Linked DNA regions of Homo sapiens: regions 2 and 3 are each linked to region 1. Evidence: promoter capture Hi-C in human tissues and cell types (Jung and others, 2019). All regions are on one chromosome and are shown on one strand. The core of a region is centred on a gene start or on the middle of the fragment in contact, and the rest is flanking DNA. Distances in the headings are between cores, read along the strand shown. Region 1 holds the start of KLHL30 (kelch like family member 30). Region 2 overlaps RAMP1 (receptor activity modifying protein 1). Region 3 overlaps LOC105373960 (a long non-coding RNA gene).

What was found. The method cuts DNA at HindIII sites, captures the fragments that hold promoters and counts their contacts. A contact is called where the count stands out against the background at its distance.
Region 2: a contact is called between a fragment that was not itself captured here and the fragment with the promoter of KLHL30 in region 1, in 2 of the 25 tissues and cell types used here (H1 embryonic stem cells and bladder).
Region 3: a fragment that was not itself captured here is called in contact with the fragment with the promoter of KLHL30 in region 1 in 2 of the 25 tissues and cell types used here (aorta and heart left ventricle).

Annotation. Positions count from the first base shown.
Region 1 is chr2:238,136,629-238,141,448 of GRCh38, reverse strand. KLHL30 (kelch like family member 30) reads right to left here and starts at 2,781. Exons shown (of 8, transcript NM_198582.4): 1 at 2,691-2,781; 2 at 1-764. The coding sequence starts at 694. RefSeq lists an enhancer at 12-525. The HindIII fragment of the contact is 32,785 bases long and covers 1-4,820 here.
Region 2 is chr2:237,882,840-237,887,659 of GRCh38, reverse strand. All of the region lies in intron 2 of RAMP1 (receptor activity modifying protein 1), which reads right to left. Among named protein-coding and RNA genes, the nearest start is that of RAMP1, 26 kb to the right of the region's middle. RefSeq lists an enhancer at 4,526-4,820. The HindIII fragment of the contact is 5,036 bases long and covers 1-4,820 here.
Region 3 is chr2:237,929,195-237,934,014 of GRCh38, reverse strand. The region is part of intron 1 of LOC105373960 (a long non-coding RNA gene); the gene reads left to right. Among named protein-coding and RNA genes, the nearest start is that of UBE2F-SCLY, 35 kb to the left of the region's middle. RefSeq lists an enhancer at 534-703. The HindIII fragment of the contact is 4,595 bases long and covers 168-4,762 here.

The DNA.
Region 1 (4,820 bases), core at 1,532-4,031:
CGCAGGGCCTGGGCACGGCGTCCAGGTGCACTAGGCTGAGCAGCTCGGGCAGGTGGGCGGCCCGGGCCTGCGGGTCATGGCGCACCCAGCGCATCAGGGCCTCGAGTCGGCTTTGCTCCGGCTGTACCTGCAGCAGGTCGCCGGCCAGACAAGTGACCAGCCGCTCTCGGGGAAGCTGCAGGAACTCGTCCTCACGTGCCACAGCCTCAAAGTTCTCTCGCAGGAAGGCCCAGGCCTTGGCAGCCACGCCCAGCAGCCCTTGCTGCTCCCCGAACTCACAGATGCCCAGGCAGTTGGCGGCATCCAGTTGCTGCTGCAGGTAGCGGCCGCAGACCTTCTGCACCGAGGGGAAGTGCAGGCGCGCAGCCGTGCGTGTCAGCGCCTCCACGTTGCCCTGCGTGATGGTCAGCCGGCCTGTGTACACGAAGTCCACCAGTTGTCCCACCACGGCGGGCTCCACGTCCCGCAGCTCCACGCGCGCAGAGAAGCTCTCGGCGAAGTCACCCGCAAACATGGCATGGAAGTAGGGGCTGCTGAGCGCCAGGAGGCCGCGGTGGCATGGCAGCTCCCGGCCGCCCACCAGCAGTGTGACGTCGGCCAGCTTGGGCTGAGAGCGCAGGCGCTGCAGGCCATCCAGCATGTCCTGGGCATGCGAGGGCAGGTGGAAATCCAGGTCATCCACGTTCCGCACCATGACGCCGTGCCCAGGGGACCTCAGTAGTCCACCCACTCAAGGGAAGAAGTGCCTGGAGCCGCCCGAGCTCCTAGGAGAGAAGAGAGCAGGGTCAGCCAAGTGGGGATGGTCTCATCCTCCTGAGCAACCCACCCGGTCTGTCCATCAGCCCTTTCCACCCCTTGATAAACACAGGATGGGCATCGACCATATGCCAGTCACTTTACCCCCCATCTGCCTCAAGCCACCCCCAGAACCCTGCAAGGTAGGGCAGGTGTCATTCCCATTTGCAGTGAGGAAATTGAGGTTCAGAGAGGGTGGGAGACCTACCCATGGCCAGGCATTCAGGGCAGAACAGGGTTGGCAAAAGAACCCATGCCCTGGGTGTCATCTGCAACCCTGGGCTACACTGAGCCCACCCCCCAGGGACCCCGGAGACACCCAAACTCCCGGGAGGCGTCCTCCGTCCCAGATCCCACATTGCTGGGGAGGCCATTTGGGGGCTGCAGCAGCTCCTGCTCCCGCGGTGCTCCCAGGTGCCAGGCCACGTGCCAAGCATGCAGAGAAGCTGTGCATTCACCACTCAGCCCCACAACAGTCCTGGAGGGTGGGTGCAATCATTGCCTCTTTTACAGCTGGGGAGACTGAGGCACAGAAGGTTTCAGTCACTTGCCCAAGATCACACATTTAGGAAGTGGTGGAGCTGGAATTTGAACTCAGAGCTAGGCTTGGGGGCCCAGGCTCTGAACCCTGCATTCCACGTGGCCGGGTGGAGGCTGCTAAACAGAAACGGCCAGCCAAAGGCAGCGTTCTGGAGGGTTTCGCGTCACCACGCCCGCATGGTTGAAGTCAGCAAGGCCGCTTTCAGGCTCATGTAATTATGTGCATGTGGTTTATGTCCTTCTGGTATCGCACCCTAAGACAACCATCCCTAGGAGAGATCAAGTCTGTGCACAAGCCTTCGACCCGGGTCACCCCAGGGCGAAAGGCTGCGCAGCGGAGAGGCCGTTCGCCCGCTAGGGGGCGCCTCGCGGGGCCATCCCGGGCAGGAGAGGCGGCCGCGCGTCCACAGGTACAAAATGCGTGGGAACGCCACGCATGGAAATGACAAAGCTCAGCTGGAGAACCAGGAGGCCAAGAATCTGGCCCGGGCAGCCACGGTGCAGGTACAGGTGCAGGCGATGGGAGCTAGGGCTCCCCGACTTCCCGACCCCGGTGCCACCTCTTGACCCCAGAGCGGGGAAGCACCTGGGAGCCCACAGGGCCTCGCGGACCAACCCGGGCTCGCGCACAGGGCAGCTCACGTGGCCGGGGCCCCACACCCCAGCATCCCGGCCGGTACACGAAGTACCCACCCAACACTGCATGCATGGGGTTCCTGCCTGGCCCCTCCCCAGGAGGCGCTGGCCCCGGTGAAGGCGGCTCTGCCCTCCCTGGGCAGCCGGGAGATGAGCTGGGGCCTGAGTAGGTGACAGGGCTGTCCCTGGGCCACCGCCTGCAGGCCTCACATTCCCGTCATTGTTGTGCTCCCTTGGGCCAGCTGCTGCCGGGCGATGGGCAGGCACGCATGAGCGCCCCCACTTCCCCTGGGGGCCTCGGGGTGCCTGCTGACACCTGTCACCCTGCAGTCCCTGCATGGGTCGGGGCTTCCTGAGGGTCTCAGAGCCTCACCCCAGTGCCTGCCCAGGCCCGGAGTGAGGAAGCCGAGTGGGCAGGACAACAAAAGGCCTGAGCCCAGCCAGGCTGGCGACTGTGGCTGAGTGGCCCTGGCTGCCATCTGAGGGGTGGCCCAGCCTCCCCCTCCCACCTCTCCGGCTGGGACATGGAGGGAAACCTGTCTCCTGAGCCCCCACCCTGAGGAGCCTGGCTTGGCCGCTGGCAAGGGCCAGGGGGCGTCTCCAAAGCACCCTGCTGTGATCCCTGGCCTCGGGGGCCTAACCCACCCTCCCCGCTGCTCCTGGCTGGGTTCCCCCTGCCCTCTCTGCTGTCCCCTGCCCCAGAGCCCCCTGGATCCTACCTCTCACTCAGCCTGGACCTCGAAGCTGAGAACACAGACCCGAGAGAGCAGGACTGCCTAGCCGGCAGCCAGGGGACACGGAGGCCTGCAGGGCGGGGCAGGGCTGGTCTGGTGGCCACGTGGGGAGGGTATTTTTAGCCTCTGTCTGCAGGGCGAGGGGAGGGTCAGGCAGTGAGGGCTGGGCTGGTGGGGGAAGGAGTGAGATGCCGGCTCCTTGGTGACTGTTAGCTCAGAAAGCCCACTGAGGCCTTCCAGGGACTTGTGGCCTAGGACAGACATCAGGAAGGGCTCCAGGGCAAGGACAGGTGAAAGCTGTCGCGGTTGGGCTGGCTGGTGGGGGCAGGGATGCAGCTTCCCCACCTGTTTCCTCGTCTACAAGTTGAGTACAGTGGAGCCCGTGGTGGGGGCCTGGGGTCACAGAGACCCTCAGCCCAGGGCCAGGACACCGACAGGTGCTGCCCTCGCTGTTGATGTCAGCGGCACCTATGTGTCCTCTTGTTCTGTTGTCACGTGGGAAAACGTGATTATCATGAATAAGCACAGGTTGGTCAGCAGAGGCTTTCCGAGCTTGGGGTCCATGGTGGCGGTAGGGAAACTTTGCCCAGAGAGGGGAGGTGCCACACTCAGTTGCCCCGCCCAGCTAGCGTGGATAGGGGAGATCTTGGGGCTCCTTGCCCTGCTACCCCATGGCCTTGGCCTCGGGGCTGCCCAGGACGGCTAAGAAACAGGGTCACCTAAAAATACAGCAGTGGACTATCAGCCTCCCGTCCAGCACTTGGTTCACGGTAGTCGCAGGGGGAAGCTCTCACGCCTGGGACTGAAATGGGCTCAGAACCACAGGCCCTGACCAAGGTCAGGTGGGTTGAGTTGGGGACCCAAGAGGCCACTGGACATTTCTCACACCAGTGACCAGAGCAGAGCTTTGTGGCTGAGGGACTTCAGGTGCATGGGAGAGAAGCCCTCAGCCCTCAGCCCTCTACCCATCGGCCATGTGGGCCTGAGCAGTATGACCATTTCCAGGTGTGCTGCGACCTGGAGGAACTGGGGAGTATTGGGTCTGGCTGTGGCCTCTTGATGCTACTAGGGATTGTCCTAATGCTCTTACAGACCAGAGAGGTCCAGGCGGCCCCCAGGGAGACAGAACCCCACTCCTGGTCCTGAGATGCACACAGCCTATGGAGGGGAAGCTCACCTACAAATTACTGCCAAGTCTGCAAGGTGCCCTTAGGGTTACCTTCCATAGAGATTCCCTGAGTCCATGCTTCCTCTACAGCCCAGCCTGGCCCAGCCATAGCCCAGCCATAGCTCAGCCCAGCTCAGCTATTGCCCAACCATAGCCCAGCCATAGCCCAGCCCAGCTCAGCTATTGCCCAACCATAGCCCAGCCATAGCCCAGTCCAGCTCAGCTATTGCCCAACCATAGCCCAGCCATAGCCCAGTCCAGCTCAGCTATTGCCCAGCCATAGCCCAGCCATAGCCCAGCCCAGCTCAGCCATAGTCCAGCCGTAGCCCAGCCGTAGCCCAGCCCAGCCTGGCCCCTGCTCCTGCTCTTTCCCCTGCTCGTGTCCCACACTGTCCCAGGGTTTTTCCCCAGCCTTGGGCATCAGCCTCATGTTGTGTGGGGGACCCTCATGGAGGACCCCAACTCTCGCTGTGTCCAGGACCACTATGGGGTGGGCGCTAGAGTGTTGGGTTTCCGTACTGTCCCCCTTGTTTGCAGTCCTGGCTCGGGCTGGAGGAAATGAGGACAGGGGATTCTGATGACAGGCTGCTGTCACGGGGAGCTGGCTCTGCTCGGGGAACAGCACTGCTTGCCAAGTGTGGAGGCCTCACAGCAGCCGTCGTGGGGCTCGGAGCCCCAGCACCTCAGATGACAGGTCAGTCTGGGAAACTCAACACCGGGGGCGCAAAACAGATCCTCCATCAAGAGATTGCTACTGAGTGGCGCAGTTTTTAAAAATACACCACTTGTTTCTTTTTATGAGGATAAAAATAACACAAGTTCCTTTTGGAAAACAGAAAAATAAAAAGCAGAAAGTGTCATTAGTAAAAGATCATTTGCCATTAGTATGCTTCCAGCTCTTTCCTGTTGTCAAAATGAGCCTGCCTGCGTGTGTGGGTCAGCGCCCT
Region 2 (4,820 bases), core at 1,171-3,670, 250 kb after region 1:
GCTCCATCATTTATAATAGCAAAAACCAGGAAATGGCTTTAACTCGAGCAGGAGTAGGGAACCACAGCGTGCCAGTGTGGCCTGCCCTAGAGTGAGGCGGCCTCCACTGCCTGGGCAGTGAGGGTAAACTCAGTCTCTTTTTCAGAAAGTGCATTCTCCATTTTTTGATTGAGACAAGAAGCTGAAACAAGAGTGGACTCAGACCCAAGGCCTGTCCCAAGACGCATCCCAAAGGGCACCCTGTGCTTAGGTCCCGCAAGATACTCGGTGTCCTCGAACTATGCACAGGGAAGGCTGTGAGGTGCCACTGCTCCCTGGAGGCCCTCCCACAGGGGACTGAGAATGCTGCTGGCCCTGCCTGTGCCTGGGAGATGTCTACCATCTGAGTGATGAATGGATAGATCCTGGGAGATGCCATGGCCCAGCCTGGGGGCTGGAGTGAAGGTCAGCATTAGGAGGGGACATCTGCTCTGTCCTCTACCCACTGCCCTCCCCACACAGGACCCACAGCCAGAGGTGTCACACACAAGGGCACATCTTCATCCTCTCTCCCCCACCCCACCCCCACCCCTTCCCCATGGGCAGCCCAGGAGGCCGCCTTCGGGGCTCAGTGAAGCCCTGTGTGCACAAACTGGCCTGTGTCCCAGGACAGCCAAGTCCCGTCTGCACAGCCTGGATGGTTCTAGGGCTTTCTGGGGGTGTGGCTGCTGTAGTCGAGTGTCCACAGGGGAGGCGGGGGTGGATGCTGAGCTACGACGAGCCCCCGCCACCAGACGTGTTCCACCTGCCCACCCTTTCACTCACTGCCGGGATCTGGTTAGCGTCACCGCATGTCTGACCTTTCGCGTTGACGCACAGGCCTGATTTCATCCCCATACTCAGGAGGATGTGAAACCAGGCAGTTAATCACCTGATGGGAAAGACGCCATGGTGGGCTCAGTGCCACGCTCCGCGCTAAGTCACCACAGGGTCTGGGGAAGGTCTCTCCATCTGTGCCTTCCCCCAGGGCCAGAAGACTTCCGAAAAAGATGTGCTGAGGATGACAAGGTGGTCCCTGGGTGTGGAGGGGTGAGGCCAGCAGTCGCCCGCTCCAGCCCCAGCCTCCAAGCTCCCCCAACACGAGGGCTCCTCTCTGTGGGTCCTCACAGATGCATTTCTCCTGGAGCTTTCTGAGAAGGGAAATGGGGCTCCTCCTCCCCATTCCAGAGCCCCCCAGCCCAGCAGGCAGGTGTCATCAGATCCTCTGGGGATCCTCATCAGAACCCACCATGGCGCGCACGTTAAGTGAGGCAACCCCTGACCTGAACACATTCCAGGGGCGGCTGCCAAGGACTCTGAGCCCTGGTTTATTTCTCCAGTGCTGAAAACCAGCAGAAGGCGCTCCCTGCACAACCACGGTCACGCGCGCCAAGGAGACTACAGGAAGGTGGAACGACACCCCCGTGGGGCGGCCTGGGCAGGGCCGGCATATCCCCAGCCACTGCCCCACTCTGCCCAGCCCTGGACAGCTGTGTCTACAGCTCGTCCCCATGGGGACCCGGCACCCCGGCTGATGCCTGCGCAGGCCACAGGAGTGGCGTCCTCAGGGGAGCCAGACTGGTGTCACTGCGCGAGCTGCATGTCTTTCCTGGCACAGCCACCTCCTTCTCTCCTCCTCTGCCCCCTTCTCCTCTGTAAGCCATAGCCTGGAGTCTTCGAGGACCCGGCTCCCAGGGGCTCTTCCTGCTCCTCTGCCTCCCGCGGGGCTGGCCATTAGTGCTGAAGGCCCCAGGAGGTCAGGGGTCAGCAGCCGGGTTTCCGTGCCCCTGGGGTGTGCTCTGGAGATGCCTGGAAAGATTCTCCCACCCAGGGGGGGCAGAGGGTGGGGGAACAGACATCTAGCCAGGGCTTTCCTCACAAGAACTGGCTTCACGCCTGGTGCAGACACACAGAGAGGGGCACGGCAGGAGCGATGGTGTGGCGGTGGGCAGGGAGGTCAGTAGGCAGGGAGGGCGGCCTCGGCCTGGGCAATGCTCGCCTTTGGATCCTCTGAGACCTGGCTGTGCTGGGCACTGCCATCTGTCCTGTCCACGCCTGAGGGCCTTTCCGTGGAGCCCACGCTATTCCACCAGCACACACAGGGATGACAGCACCACAGCCACCAGGGAGAGCACAGAGGGGTCCCAGTGCTCGTGGGCATGTGGCAAGTTCCAGGGCGGACACCGCCATGAACAAACCCACGAGGGCACCGAGGCAGCCCCAGATGCTGTACTGGGAGCTCCTGATGCTCACGACAGGCCTCAGGGAGGTGGGTGGGCTCCAGGGCCAGGCCTCCGGGCAGGGGCAGGCGGCGGGCAGGGCTCTGTGAACAGCCCATCCCGAGACCTCGTGGGGGTCGAGCTCAGCAGAAATCCAGGAGGACACCCTGCCCTTGGCCCAGACAGCCCTCGTGATTTCAGAAGAAGCCTCCCTCTCAGTTCCTGCTGAAATTCAAAATACAAGCAGCTGTTCCCATGTTGCTGCTGAGTTCTGAAGAATTTCCTGACTTGACTCTTTTAGCAGGAGACACAAAGAAGGCAGCAGGAGGGAAATGCAGCAGGCTGGGAAGGACCCCAAAGTGTTGGTGCACCCTGCCCAACGTCGTGTGGACCCAGAGCGTCATGCCTGGCGCTGGCCATGCTGAGCCGCCGTACCACAGCAGGCACTGCAGACATTTGTCTTGCGTCCCCCAACTACCACGCTGGGCTGCAGCCCCACTCCCTGGGGCCTGGAGCCCCGTCCTCTGAGCAGCTCCTTGGGCTGGGGGAGGGCCCATGATTGCCCAGCATGGGGTCGGCAGGGCAGGGCAGGGTCCGCAGTGACAGCCTCGGGTAACCAAAGCTGAGGTGACCTGAGGCTACCATGGTCAGTATTTACAAACCTGGAAGCTTTAGGGCAGAGGGACGGAGGCATCCCAGCTGGTATGGAAGTGAAGTCTGGTTCTCTGGGGCCCAGTGACCTCAGATGCTGGGAAGGCTGTGGCCCCATCCTCTGGCATCTTCCCCGAGGACACCTTTCCCCTGCCCAAGATGGCACTCAGACCCTGAAGCCATACAGGGTGGGGTGGAATAGGCGTGTCCCCTTCCCTCTTAAATCAACCGAGCATTTCTTATTTAGGTGAGGAAATCTGACGTGAGGCTTTTAAAAACCCATGTTTTATAGCCGAGTCCAGCACGTTCCAGATTCTTCTCTTCTCTGTTCTGCCTTCTCTCTCCCTCCCCTACACCCATAGGAAGGTCTCTGGAAATGAGAGTTCCCGATGACACATTTGCCAGGTTTTCTATACCTCCTCAAATTAGATTGTAGCTCCAGTTAATACATTAAATCACATTATGCCTCCATCAGCAAACCAAGGCTGCAGCTTAATGAGATGATAACCCCTGGTAAATGACGGCCCAGCCAGCTTGCAGGGGAGCCTGGCCCCGCTGAGCTCATTCAGCCACTTTTCAGGGACCTGTTCCATGTAGCTGAGTGGAAGACACCCAACACGTGTTAGAAAGGGCTCAGGAATCACCCCCAAGCCTTGCTCACAACAGACAACCTGACAAAATCCACCAACCAGGTAACAAAGCAACAGGATGAGCGGAGGAGTGGGGTCACGGTCAGGGCAAGGGCTGTCGGAACCCAGCAAGCACCTGCGTGCAGATCCATGCCGGGCAGCCAAGGTCCCAGGGCAAGCGCAGTGGCTACAAACCCTGAATGCGCAAAAAAAAAAAAAAAAAAAAAAAAGTGGACCTACAGGCCAGGGCAGGGACCCAGGAATGACCCCTGTGCAGAGGAGGAGCCTCTTTTTTTTTTTTCTTTTCTTTTCTTTTTTTTTTTTTTGAGGTAGGGTCTGGTTCTATCACCCAGGCTGGAGTGCAAGTGGTACCATCATGGCTCACTGCAGCCTTGACCTCTCAGGCTTGAGTGATCCTCCCGCCTCAGCCTCCCAAGCACCTGGGTCTACAGGTGTCCAACACCATGTACAGCTAATTTTTAAAATTTTTGTAGAGATGGAGTCTCACTTTGTTGTCCAGGCTGTTCTCACACTCCTGGGCTTAAGTAATTCTTCTGCCTTGGCCTCCCAAAGTGTTGGGATTACAGGCGAAAGCCACTGCACCAGGCCATGAGGAGTCTTCCATTCACTTTTTACTTCTATTCAACGTCCTGAGTAAAGCAGGGATCACGGGGGGCCTCCTTCCCATCTGCTTTGATAGAGGAAGCAAGACTTCTGGGCCGGCACTAGGAGCTGGCACGAGCATGTCTCAGCCCCCACTTACTCCTGTGTGTGTATCCCATAAAAGGCTGGCCGGCCGCCTTTGTCTACGTCGCTCATAGGAAGGTGAGTCCCCTTTGACACGCAGCTGTTGTTAAATGAGACCTCTGATTTCAGAAGAGTCTGGAAGCTTCCCTCTGCCATATACCAAGATACCTGCAGGCCCAGCCCAGGGCCCTGGGACAGCTATGACCTTGGGCGGCAGCAGGCATGTGGCAGCTCTGGCCCAGAGGCTCCTGCCTTCAGAATCCCCTGGCCTCCATGCCAGCCTGGTTTTGGATACCAGACCCCAATAATTGCCTGGTTCTGCTTGCTTGGCTTCTGCCCCAGCTGCCAAGCCTCAACTGCACTTGGCTCAGAGACGGGCCTTTCCCAGAGCCTGTGTCCCCCATCAGGTCACCTGCCTGGCTCACAGTCCTTGAGACCAGCTGGGACCCTGCTTGGGCTGGGAGCATTCCCTGAGGCCAGCCACCTGGCTGTCTGGCTGCCTGCCGGTCAGCCTCACTTTGGGGTCCCGCTCATCCAACAGACACAGTGCCACCTG
Region 3 (4,820 bases), core at 1,216-3,715, 210 kb after region 1:
GTGTAGGCAATGAGAAGTGATCAGATTCTGGGCTGACTGTGAAGATGGAGTGGACACGATGGACTGATGGGGTGGAGAGGGGTAGAAGGGGAAGAGACCAGTTGAGCTGGACTCTCAGTTTTGTGGTCTGTGTGATTTGGAGGATGGCGGTGCCGCTGCTGAGGCAGGGGAGAGGCAGAGAGGAGGAGCACGCGAAGCATCAGGCTTTGGGTCGGGCGCGGTGGCTCACGCCTGTAATTCCAGCACTTTGGGAGGCTGAGGCGGGCAGATCACTTGAGGCCACAAGTTCAAGACAAGCCTGGCCAACATGGTGAAACCCCGTCTCTACTAAAAATACAAAAATTAGCCGGACGTGGTGGCAGGTGCCTGTAATCCCAGCTACTCCTGCTGAGGCAGGAGAATCGCTTGAACCCGGGAAGCGGAGGTTGCAGTGAGCCGAGATCGTGCCACTATACTCCAGCCTGGGCGACAAGAGTGAAACTGTCTCAAAAAAAAAAAAAAAAAAAAAAGGAATAAAAGAAAAAGTGGGCTTTGGATGCACGGTCTGAGACGCCACTTTGTTCTTTAGTTTCTTCAGGTGGTTCAAAGTACAGGCATTTCTTCTTCATTTACAATCTAGGCTTTACGTTTCCCTGATTCCTGCTTTAAGGGCATCCTGTGAACTTAGGTATGTTGCATTTCCTTTTTTTTTATTTTTCTTTTTGAGACGGAGTCTCGCTCTGTCACCCAGGCTGGAGTACAGTGGCATGATCTCGGCTCACTGCAACCTCCGCCTCCCAGGTTCAAGCAATTTTCCTGCCTCTGCCTCCTGAGTAGCTGGGATTACAGATGCCTGCCACCATGTCCAGCTAATTTTTTGTATTTTTAGTAGAGATGGGGTTTCACTGTGTTGGCCAGGCTGGTCTGGAACTCCTGACCTCGTGATCTGCCCGCCTTGGCCTCCCAAAGTGCTGGGATTACAAGCATGAGCCACCACACCCAGCCTGGTATGTTGCATTTTCATTTTTATTCAGTTCAAAATATTTTCTAATTTTATTTTTGGTTGACTCATGAATTATTTAGAAGTGTGATATCCAGTTTCACATACTTGGGGATTTTCCAGAGATCTTTCTGTTTCTGGTTTATCATTTGATTCCACTGTGGTCAGAAAACATACTTAGTACAGCTTGCATTCTTCAAAAACATTTTTGAGACTTTATGACCTGCATTACAGGGGTGTCGAATCTTTTGGCTTCCCTGGGCCAATTTGGAAGAAGGAGAATTGTCTTGGGCCACACATAAAATACACTAACACTAACAATAGCTGATGAGCTAAAAAAAAATGCAATAAACATATTATTATTATTATTATTATTTTTGAGACAGAGTCTCACTCTGTCACCCAGGCTGGAGTGCAGTGGCATGATTTCAGTTCACTGCAACTCCACCTCCAGGGTTCAAGTGATACTTGTGTCTCAGCCTCCCAAGTAGCTGGGACTACAGGCATGCGCCACCATGCCCAGTTAATTTTTGTGTTTTTAGTAGAGACAGGGTTTCACCATGTTGGCCAGGCTGGTCTCGAACTCCTAACCTCAAGTGGTCCACCCACCGCAGCCTCCCAAAGTGTCTCATAATGTTTTAAGAAAGTTTATGAATTTGCGTTGGGCTACATTCAAAGCTATCTTGGGCCACAAGTGGCCCACAGGCTGCGGATTGGATAAGCTTGGCCTAGAATATGGTCTATCTCTGTAAATGGGTCCAGATACAAGCTCAGCAATTGCTGTTCTAAAATTCTGCACCTTCTATGTTTGTTTGTTTATTTATTTATTTATGTTTTTGAGATAGAGTCTCGCTCTGTTGCCCATGCTGGAGTGCAGTGGCACAATCTTGGCTCACTGCAACCTCTGCCTCCTGGGTTCAAGCGATTCTCCTGTCTCAGCCTCCCGAGTAGCTAGGACTACAGGTGCGTGCCACCACACCTGGCTAATTGTTGTATTTTTAGAAGAGACGGGGTTTCGCCATGTTGGCCAGGCTGGTCTCAAACTCCTGACCTCAGATGGTCTGCCCACCTCAGCCTCCCAAAGTGCTGGGAATACAGCATGAGCCACCGCACCCGGCCGGCACCTTCTACGTTTATTGTTAATTGAAAAACAGTCTTGAGCTGTGCCAAGGATGCCTGGGGATGAATAGAACTGTTTGGAGCATGTGCCTAACCTGTAACTGTGGCACTGCCACTGCAATGCATTGTGGGGGGTGGGCTGCCCCCACTTACATGACAACTGTGACAATCATTGCTCTGGAATAATCAGGATTCTCATTTGAGACTCCAGCTGGCTTTGATATTTCGTTTCTAGAGACTCACCCAGCAGTGTAAGAAAATAAACAAACTCTGAGAGGCTGTGAGTTTTGAATTGCAGAGGGTAAAACCAGAGCCAAAAGTTCCAGAGAAAATATTTCAAGCTTCGGGTGTGTTTGAGGAACTGAGAAGTCACAGAATAGCTGGAAAAGAGGATGTAGTGTAAAGTAAACTCAGCTGCACAGACATATGGTCTGTTGGTGGAACTGGAGTCCGACCAGATAATGATCATCAGCGAGGCAGTGCTCTGAAGAAGCCTCTCATCCACAGGTGGGGGTCCGGGCTGCTGCAAACAGTTGCGCAGGTGTGCGCTGCACAACTCAGGGCCACCGTTAACATCACACATAATGGCACATGGCAAAAGGTCCCATTAGGTACAGCCCTGTGGCTTTACCATGTTAAATGCCTTTCGTCTTTCTGGGCCAGTCACTGTGAATCTGAGTGCCTGTGAGGGCACAAACCCTGCACAGTTCCTCTGCTCCTGGCAGTGTAGCATCCCATAACTCCTCCCCAGGGCCCTGCCAGTGCCAGCTCAAAAATCTCCCTGTGGGAGGGTATGGCAGAAAGACCCTAGGGTTCATGCCCTATATAATCCCTTCCTCTTGAGTGTGAGTGGGACCTGTGACTTGCTTATAACCAGTAGAATATAGCACAGGTGACAGGATGTCACTCCCATGACTGAGTTACTATAGATACCTAGACAAGCCTCCATCTTACCAGCACACATTGGAGATTCTCCTTCCTGGCTTGATGAAATAAGGACCGTGTTATGTTATAAGTTCACCTAACAAAAAACCACTAACAAGGACCTGAGGGGGACCTTCAGTCAGAGGCCAGCAAAAGCCAGGGCCCCTTGGTCACATGCCCCACCCATTCAGTCCACTGGGCTGCACTGAGCTTGTGCACCAGCTCAGCCCGTAGCTGGGCCATGTGTGCCCCAGCCTGCCTGTGTTATAGCTCCTACCCACATTTGGTGGTTCCTGAACTCTTGTCTCATGTCCAGGAAGAATGAGGTTACCCTGACCATCGAAGGATGAGGAGGGCAGATAATAACTGTATTGAGTGATGGAAAAGTTCTCAGTGGAGAGGGGATGCAAGGGTTGTCCTCCACTCTAAGTTGGGTGGTCTCTCCTTCAGTGTGGCTGGGTCTGGGATTTTATAGGCTCAGAATGGGGAGTGTGTGCTGATTGGTTTGTGAGTATGCAAAAAAGGTTAAAACAAAGGCACTGCTCAAAGGTGGGCATGACAGTGTAAAAAACCAATTAGGGTAGGGTAGGTTTCTGTAAAATAGGTGAAGGGTGGGGATCAATCAGAGGAAAGTGCACCAAACGGGAAGACGGGTTCTCAATCTGGTCCGTGGATTTGACTTGTAGCTTGGCTTTCAGGTTTTAAACTGTCTTTGTCTTGGAGGTAGGGTTTCACTGGGGTTCTGCCCCATCTGCCTAGGCATGTGTCTGCCTCCTGCATCTGCAAGAGGAGGATGTGACCCAGCGGACACCTGGTGACAGCCTCATGAGACCCTGCCATCTCAGAGGACATAGCTGGGCCACGCCGGGACTTCTCACCAGCCGGGAAATATGTTACCCAGCGATATAAATGAATGCAGGGGGTCTTGAGAACACAGTCCAGTTGGAAGCAGAAAATAGGTGACTCGTCTTCAGATGGTGAACATGCTATTTGTACTTCAATTGTGTGTTTAGCTGGGGTGGCTTGGGGGTGCTGGTGGAAATTACAGTAGGCAAAGTCCCTGTGGGCCACCCCAGGACCCAGCAACTAGCCCAGCAGCCTGGAGGAGTGGGAGGCATGGCTGGGCCCTGGCCTGGGGAAGGAAGGGGATATTTGCTTGGAACATTCTAGTACAATTAATTGGAATGAAAGTGTTGTCATTTTAAGTTTCTGACAGTTTGGTTAGGTTAGACTTTAAAAATCGTAACGTGGCCGGGCATGGTGGTTCATGCCTATAATCCCAACACTTTTGGGAGGCCAAGGTGGGTGGGTCACTTGAGGCCAAGAGCTTGAGACCAGCCTGGCCAACATGGCAAAACCCTGTCTTTACTAAAAAATACAAAAATTAAAGGCGGGGCGTGGTGGCTCACGCCTGTAATCCCAGCACTTTGGGAGGCCGAGGAGGGCAGATCACGAGGTCAGGAGATCGTGACCATCCTGGCTAACACGGTGAAACCTCGTCTCTACTAAAAAATGGAAAAAAATTAGCTGGGCGTGGTGACAGGCACCTGTAGTCCCAGCTACTTGGGAGGCTGAGGCAGGAGAATGGCATGAACCTGGGAGGCGGAGCTTGCAATGAGCCAAGATAATGCCACTGCACTCCAGCCTGGGCGACAGAGTGAGACTCCGTCTCAAAAAAAAAAAAAAAAAAAAAAAACACACAAAAACAAAAATTAGATGGGCATGGTGGTATGCACCTGTAATTCCAGCTACTCAGAAGGCTGAGGCACAAGAATCACCTGAACCCAGGAGGCAGAGG